Regions from separate parts of the Homo sapiens genome. Here region 1 is linked to region 2. Evidence: promoter capture Hi-C in human tissues and cell types (Jung and others, 2019). All regions are on one chromosome and are shown on one strand. The core of a region is centred on a gene start or on the middle of the fragment in contact, and the rest is flanking DNA. Distances in the headings are between cores, read along the strand shown. Region 1 has its middle 41 kb from the start of MIR3134. Region 2 holds the start of GALNT15 (polypeptide N-acetylgalactosaminyltransferase 15).

Evidence for each region. The method cuts DNA at HindIII sites, captures the fragments that hold promoters and counts their contacts. A contact is called where the count stands out against the background at its distance.
Region 1: a fragment that was not itself captured here is called in contact with the fragment with the promoter of GALNT15 in region 2 in 2 of the 25 tissues and cell types used here (adrenal gland and liver).

Annotation. Positions count from the first base shown.
Region 1 is chr3:15,654,212-15,658,122 of GRCh38, reverse strand. It overlaps a transcript of BTD not described here. Among named protein-coding and RNA genes, the nearest start is that of MIR3134, 41 kb to the left of the region's middle. The HindIII fragment of the contact is 7,925 bases long and covers 1-3,911 here.
Region 2 is chr3:16,173,345-16,177,659 of GRCh38, reverse strand. GALNT15 (polypeptide N-acetylgalactosaminyltransferase 15) reads right to left here and starts at 2,980. Exons shown (of 10, transcript NM_054110.5): 1 at 1,970-2,980. The coding sequence starts at 2,508. The HindIII fragment of the contact is 4,561 bases long and covers 2,005-4,315 here.

The sequences.
Region 1 (3,911 bases), core at 1,219-3,718, 520 kb after region 2:
AATCTTGGCTCAATGCAACCTCCACCTCCCCGGTTCAAGCGATTCTCCTGCATCAGCCTCCCGAGGAGCTGGGATTATAGGTGTGCACCACCATGCCCAGCTAACTTTCGTATTTTTAGTAGAGATGGGTTTTCACCACGTTGGCCAGGCTGGTCTCCAACTCCTGACCTCAAGTGATCCGCCCACCTCGGCCTCCCAAAGTGCTGGGATTACAGGGGTGAGCCACCACGCCCGGCCCCCTCCAACTGTTTTGTCAACCTGTTATATCTTGGGTTTCTGGTACTCTTTTTTTTTTTTCAGTGTTGCTTGAAGACTTTTATATTGTTTGCAAGATTCATGCCTAGAGAAACTGACAAAGATTCCTGTGGAAGGTGCCCTCGAACAGTCCATCACTCACCCATAGGCACAATCTTCTGAGCCCACAGCAAAAAAGCAGCTGGGACCATCCCCACCCAAGAAGGGTGCTTACCTGGAATATGGAAAGGCTACTTACTTGCATAGTGCTTGTAATGTGCCTTACCATTGCTGTAATAATTACATGAAGTTATGATAATAAATAGCCTAATTAGCTCATTAATTTCCCATGTACAAACTGCTTATGTTCAAAACCTAGCTCACATACAGCTCTGGGGGGCATTGAGCCAGTTGTTCAGCCTCTCTGTGTCTCAGTTTCTTCATCTGTAAAATGGGATTAATAAAGATATCTATCTTACAGAGTTATTGGAAAGATTCAAGGAGCTACTATGCCTGCTAAGCACTCAATAAATAAAAACTGACATCAGTACAGCAGCCTACTTTGAGGTAGACTTTAAATAGCCACAAATTCTTTTACACTCCTCCCACTGATGAGTGGGCTCTGTATTTCCTCTCCTTGAATCTAGAAGGGTGCTGTAGCAACTTTACTGATAGAATATGGCAGAAGTGCCACTGTGCCTGTTTCTGGCCACAGCTTTAAGAAATTGGCAGCTTCCTCTTCCTGTCTCTTATAATACCCTGTCTGGGAAACCTGAGATGTCTTGTTAGAAGTCTGACTATCCTCAGACCAGCATGCTGAAAGACCACATGGAGAGGCCCAGAGGAGCCTTCCAGCTGCCCTGTCAATGTGCCAGGGACCTGAGTGGAGAAACTACCCTGGAAGTGGGTTCTCCATCCCCCACCACTCCGGCCAGAAAGAGGTGGGCTGCATAACTGAGTCCTTCCCAAATTCATGAGCAAAATAAAATGGCTGTTCAAGCCATTACGTTTCATAGTTGAAACTTAGAAACTAAGTGGAACTTAGTGAAACTTAAGTTAGTGGAACTTAATGAAATGAAGTGACACTTATGCACTTAGCAATAGATAATCACAACACTGATTAAGAAAATCTAAACATATTAAACAAATGAATGAGTTGGGAGGGGGTGGCTAGCCTCCAGCCCGGAGGGAGAGGATTCATATTACAAATTGAGTCTTTGTTTTTGTTTTATAAAATATTCTATGTTGGATATAAAAATGCTCTAGGAATAAGTGCTCAGTGCCGCAAAGTAAAACCAGCACCCAGGCAAAAGTTTTCTCAGCAAGGCAATTTACTTCTGCAGAAGGGTGCCACTTGAGTCAATCAAGATTGCAAGAGCACAAAGAACAAAGGAGACCAGGCAGTTTTTATATCCTTAATGCAATCCCTACCTCTGTGTCCCTCCCGCATGAGCTGGGGTCAGACTGCGCAATCTGAGCTGACCTGACTGGCTACTTGGAAATATTTTTCTAAATATGGAGGGGAAGGGGACGTGAGGTACAGTGGTGAAGTGTGTGAGACATGCAGTTTGAGGGGAACAATGGGTGCAGGTAACCAAGGCAACAGATGTGAGGTATTGATTAGAACTGATGGGAAGGGGGTAGGCTATTTTACAATAACTAGGGGCAAGGAGGAACAGAAAAGTTGAGGTTTGAAAACAAAGGTCAAGGAAGTTAGCAGGCTAAATCTTTAAAGAGAAACTCAGAGAAATTCATTGTATCTTACATCTATAATAATAACAAAGTAGGCTGGGTGCAGTGGCTCATGCCTGTAATCCCAGCACTTTGGGAGGCCGAGGTGGGTGGATCACTTGAGGTCAGGAGTTTGAGACCAGCCTGGCCAACATGGTGAAACCTTGTCTCTACTAAAAATACAAAAATTAGCCAGACATGGTGGCAGGAGCCTGTAATCCCAGCTACATGGGAGGCTGAGGCAGGAGAATTGCTTGAACCCGGGACGCAGAGGTTGCAGTGAGCCGAGATCATGCCACTGCACTCCAGCCTGGGCAACAGAGTGAGACTCTGTCTCAAAAACAAAACAAAGTAAAAACAACAAAGTATTCTCTGTCATACATGAATACTGTTTCGTTTCTTATTTACTATTAGAAAAAGCATAATTTACAACTAGAAAACAATGAGAGTCTCCAAGGATATTTGAGCTGAAATCATCTCATGTAGTCCCCTCTTTTACAGAGAGAGGACCTTAGGCCTTGAGAGGCACAGGTACATGGCTGAGGTCACACAACAATTTAAAAGCAAGCCAGGCCTGGTCTCTGGGCTCCCAAGCCAGCGCATTCAAAATCTGGGTTTATTTTTTCACTTCTTATTTTTTATGTAAATTTGTAGGAATAAATCTGTTTTGTGACATATGTCCCTTTTACTATTCAATATACACTGCACCAAGGAAAGATCTGAAACAATTTTCAGGGGCCAGTAGAACACAAGGGCCACATTTTGTGGTATTAATTGCAAAACAATGAAGTTCTTCACCCTTTTCAGATTCATTTATAAATGCCAAAATACTGGCTTTTATTATAAGTATCTTTATATTCCATCAACCTAATAATTTTCCTTACATACGTCAAACTCCCAGCATGCTTCAACCCCTAATATGCAGCAATTTAGAGGATATGCACATTATAATTCAGAGGACACAGCCTTCTTTGTTCCTCTAATAGTTACTAAACAATTTGGATTGCAACCATTCTTTGAAGATGTGCGTGTTTACTGAAAACAAAGCCTTTCTGTTGTGCATGAATGTAGGGGCTTTTCCTCCTGTGGCTTTGACGTGTCTGATGTCTTTTAAAAACTGATGCAGGCCGGGCGCGGTGGCTCATGCCTATAATCCCAGCACTTTGGGAGGCCAAGGCGGGCAGATCATCTGAGGTCAGTAGTTTGAGACCAGCCTGACCAACATGAAGAAACCCCGTCTCTACTAAAATACAAAATTAGCCGGGTATGGTGGCGCATGCCTGTAATCCCAGCTACATGGGAGGCTGAGGCAGGAGAATTGCTTGAACCCGGGACGCAGAGGTTGCAGTGAGCCAAGATCATGCCATTGTACTCCAGCTTGGGCAACAAGTGCAAAATTCCATCTAAAAAAAAAAAAAATTAGCCAAGTGTGGTGGCAGATGCCTGTAATCCCAGTTATTCAGGAGGCTGAGGAAGGAGAATCGCTTGAACCCGGGAGGCAGAGGGTGCAGTGAGCCAAGATTGCCACAGAGTGAGACTTCATCTCAAAAACAAAAAAAAGGATGCAGGACTATATTAGAAAATGTTAAGCTTAACATGAATAATTCCAAAGAAATGTTTTGGTTTTTGTCCCTTAAACTGCTATTATAGATTTTTTAATTGTTATTTTTCCCTTAAATAGCTATTTATTACATTCCCCTCAGTGAGTCCTCATGGCTTGGATATGAGGTGTGACTGACTTAGGAGGAGGTGAAGCATCTGAAAACCTGTCATCAGCCAGAAGAATCATTTTAAATGACCATGTTATTCCCCTGCCTAATCCCCTGCAATGCTGTCTGCCCACATAAACCCTAACTCTTCCCCCAGCCTGCAGAGCCTGCAGAACCAGCCAATGCCCTCTCCCCTGACTCCATGCTCCTTCCCTCCCCTTCACTTGCCCCAGTGCC
Region 2 (4,315 bases), core at 1,731-4,230:
AATACATATATGAACCATGCACATAATACATGCACATTAACACACATGCACACAAGATGACACATTGCACAATGCATAGCTGTGCATATCATATCACATACACAAAGTAACATGCACCAAGCATATAGGCACCACATAACGCAGTACCTGCATGTACTACACATACATGCACGACATCCATTTAATACACATAATGCAATGCACACACAACACAGAGAATATATACAACACACATGCACGAACATACATATACCATGACCCACAAATATGCATATTCACCACACATTTGCACTATGCAAACACACAGTCACACACACAGACCACTTTGGTAGCCACAGACCCTCTCGTTTCAGGCAATATTATTTCTTATCGGCAAAAAGAGGATGCTCACTCTTGCTCCAGGCCAGTGAAAAATAGTGTCAAAAAATTTGAAAACTATGTTTGTTCATTCAGCAATCACTTCTTTACTGCATGTTGGGCTTTGGGATGTACAATACAAACTCAGTCCTGACCTTCTAAGGGGCTCACAGCATAGCAGGGAAAGCAGGCATTCGACTGATAAATACATCAATAATCATTTGGCTTTAGTTTTGTAAGTGCTGTGAGTTAAAACTCCAGGGTGCAAGGAGGGCACAAAACTAGAATGGGGTGGGAATTTCCTGAAAATAGCTTTTAAAGGTAAGGCTTGAAAACAGTGTAGCGGGTTTGAAATGGAAGTAGGGTGCGGTGAGTGAGGCACCCGGGGCACACAATTTAAGGAGATGTTCACTCCCGGCTGCTGACCCTGCAATTGCACACCCTCGAGTGTGAGTGGCTGAGCAGCCAGGCTGAGGGGAACTAGATCAGGGATCCGAAGAGTGTGTGGCCCTGCTTCCAACTGCTGCCCTGCACAAATGTTTGCTTTCCAGGAAACTCTCCAGGCTCTGGGAGGAGCAATGGCCTATAGGAAAAGGGACCTAAATCACCAAACTAAAACTAACAAGCTGCCTTGCTCCCTGGATGCTGGTAACCAAGGCTCCCTCCTCAGTGGTCAGCCATGGTGACAGTAAGGGAGCAGGGGGTGTGGAGGATGGGCCAGCATCTCCCTGGGCACAGCTCTGCCCATCACCTACACTTCTCAGCTTACCTCCTGGGGCTGGGGCTGCCCTGGCAGGGTAAATTGCAGTCAGCACAGTATTCTGGCTCTCAGGCACTGGACCTGTTTCCTTAGTCTAGTGGCCCAAGGCAGGTGGCATGGAGTGGTGGGTCAGGCAGACTGGAGCTCACATGCCTGCATTCAAATCCTGACTTTGTTACCTACTAGCAGCGTGACTGGGAAAGCAACTTCACCTTGTTTTCATACCTATAGAATAAGCATGATGATACTACTAGCACCCATCTTGCAGAGCTGTGAGGACTTTCCAGGACTTTATGAGTTAATACATTAAAAGCTTGTAAAGTAAATCCAGACGCATGGGAAGAGCCCCCTAAATGTAAACTGCAATTGTTATTTTGATCCAAACTAAAAGCAAACACTAACAATAACCCTAAAATCAAAATGTAGTGGAGTCAGAGTGTTAGAACTGGCAAATGTCTGCTCTAACCTCCCTTCTGTGTTATAGAAATAAAGCCATTTGACCTAAAGACAGAAGAACTAGAACCCAGGACGGAGAAGAGAATGAACAAGCAAGAGTCCTCACTTTCTGCTTTCTAGGACAATGATTCTCACCTGAAGGGCTTGTTCATACAGACCACTGGACCCCACCCAGAGTTTCTTGTTTGGCAGGTCTGGGATGGGGTCTGAGAATCTGCATTTCTGAGAACCCACCAGTGCCCAGGGGCTGCTGACGCTGCTGGCCCAGGTACTGCATCTTGAAAAGCACTTGCTCTAAGTCAGGAGAGGCAGGCTACGGAAAGTTTGCATTCCCGAGTTTGCTACCACCCGATCATGCCCTGGGATCAGGGAAGGGAAAACAAGGGCCTTACTTACAGTGGGTGCCGCACCTCGGGCAGAGCCCTCTGGAGGGGGATGCGGGCACTGAGTGCCTCCTGGAGGCCACGTGGGTCCAGGCTGAACGGGGTCAACTCCTCTTCTTCAGACACCTCCCCGTCCTCATCAGCCCCCCAGTCCCTCTTTGGGGCTTCCTTATCCTGCCTCCTTGGCTGCTTGATGAGGCGGTAGCTCCCACCTCTCCTGCCCTGGCTCTGGTTCCTTCTGGCCTGGGGTAAGGCCACGGCCACCAGCAGCTGATCCTCCCGCAGTGAGATAAAGGGTGGCAGGCCCTCCAGAGGGCTGTACTCTTCACCCTCATCCTCAGCTTCCAGTACCCAATCCTGGGATTCCCCAAAGTCCAGGCGGTACCTGGCTTCAGGGCTGTGCTTGCTGGCTTGGGCTGTGACAGTCTGGTGCAGGGTGTGGTGGGGAGGGTGCAACATCGCCACCATCATCAGGACGCATCCCAGCATCAGGAGCAGCAGGAGGAACTGGAGTCTGCATGGTCTGTGCCTGTATCGCTTCCTTAGGAGCATGTTGCTAGAACTTGCCAAATGCAACAGGTCATGTTCAAGTTAGCTTTCTCCCGCTCCAGGCTCCTTCAAGCTTGCAGCAGAACCTGGGTTGCTTGTTCCACCTGGAAGTTTTTCTGCCAGTCACTTAACCTGGTCCTGACATTTGCCAACAGCGTGTGCAAGACCTGCTTCCACTTACAATCAGAAAACCACAGGACCCAAGTTTCACCCCAAGTCCTCTCTGAGTGGATTTCTTTAATTGCCTTCTGAAAGCCCATTCACAGGGACTTCAAATTGAATTGCTTCCCTCCCTTTACCCCGGTTTTCTCCTTGGGAAAAAAATAATGATTCCATTCTGCTCAGGTGTTTCTTTCCCCCTTTGTATAAATAGGTTGCTATGAGGTGTCTGGGATGAGCTGGTGGGTTCTCAGTCAAGCAGGGCTGACAGCCGTCCCTCTTTGGACGCTTCCAGTCAGGTCAGATCAACAGATGTAAAGCCGGCAGGCAGTGCCTGGTTTCCTTTCACACATAGCTCCACTCAGCCGAGAGCCCTCTGCCAGACACAACCCAGAGCCAAGCGTGCGCGTCACTCCTGGTCCTAATGCCCTCACTGTTCCCAGGCTTTGCACAACTCGGTGTGGTCACTGCTAGAGCCAAATCAAAACAGGAATATCCCAAGAGTTCAGAAGGAAAGACTAATACCCTCTGATTCAGAAAGGCTGTGTGTGTGGCATAGCTGCAAGGAGCTGCAGCTGTCTGTTTGCAACCTCAGCCTCCCATGGGGGATCAGGCAAACTAGGTTGGACTCTCCTTCCCTTCCTGGGGACCACTGTCCCTGGCCTCCTGAAAATGAGGGAGCTAAGGGAGATGATCTTGCAAGTCCCTTCTTCTCCCACAAGAGCAGCTGAATGCCTGCTCTGCCCTGGCCACCAAGGGGGACGCTGGAAGAGGAGTGGCATGCTCTTTCCCTCATAAAGCTTCCTTCATTTAACCAACACATAATTAATGAACACATGCTATGTGCCAAAATTGTTCTGGGAACTGGAAGTAGAGCAATGAATAACACAGACAAAAATGTGTGTCTCATGGAGCTTGCATTCTAGTGACAGATACAATTAAAACTATCCACTGGGTCAGATAGTGATGAGGATGAAGGCAAAAAAGCAGAGCAGGGATGGGGCTGGGGAGCATGGGCTGGGCTTGGAAATGGACATTGAGTGGTGGAGAAAGGTTTCATGGAAGAGTTACCATTTGTGTAAAGGAGAGGGCTGCACAGCTATTTGAGGTTGAGTGTTCGGGGCAGACAGAATGATAAATGTGAAGGTTCCAAGGCAAGAGTATGCTGGCATGTCTGAGGAACAGCCGGCATGGCTGAAGCAAAGAGAGCAGGGTGGAGCCTGATGGGAAGTGGAATAAGAGAGGCAAGGGGGCGGGGGGCAGGAGGACCATGCAGGACACCCCCTGGTTGCATTGAAGGAACTTTGGCTTTTCCTCTGAGTGAGAGGGGAGCCCTTAGAGGAGAGACACAATCTGACTTGGGTTTTAACTGGATCATTCTGGCTGCTGGGTTGAGACTAATCAGTGGGGGGCAAAAAGCAGGAGCAGGGAGACCAACCAAGAGGTTCTTGGCTTGCACTAAGTGGCATCGGTGGTGACAGGGGTCAGCTTGTGGATATACTTTAAGGAAGAACCTATAGGATTTGCTGATGAATTAATGACTAATGTGAGAGGAAGAGAAGAGTCAAGATGAGTTCAAATTTTTGTTCTGAGTAGTTGGAAGAATAGACTTGCCATTAACCAAGATGGGGAAGGAGAGAAGGTGGAAGGA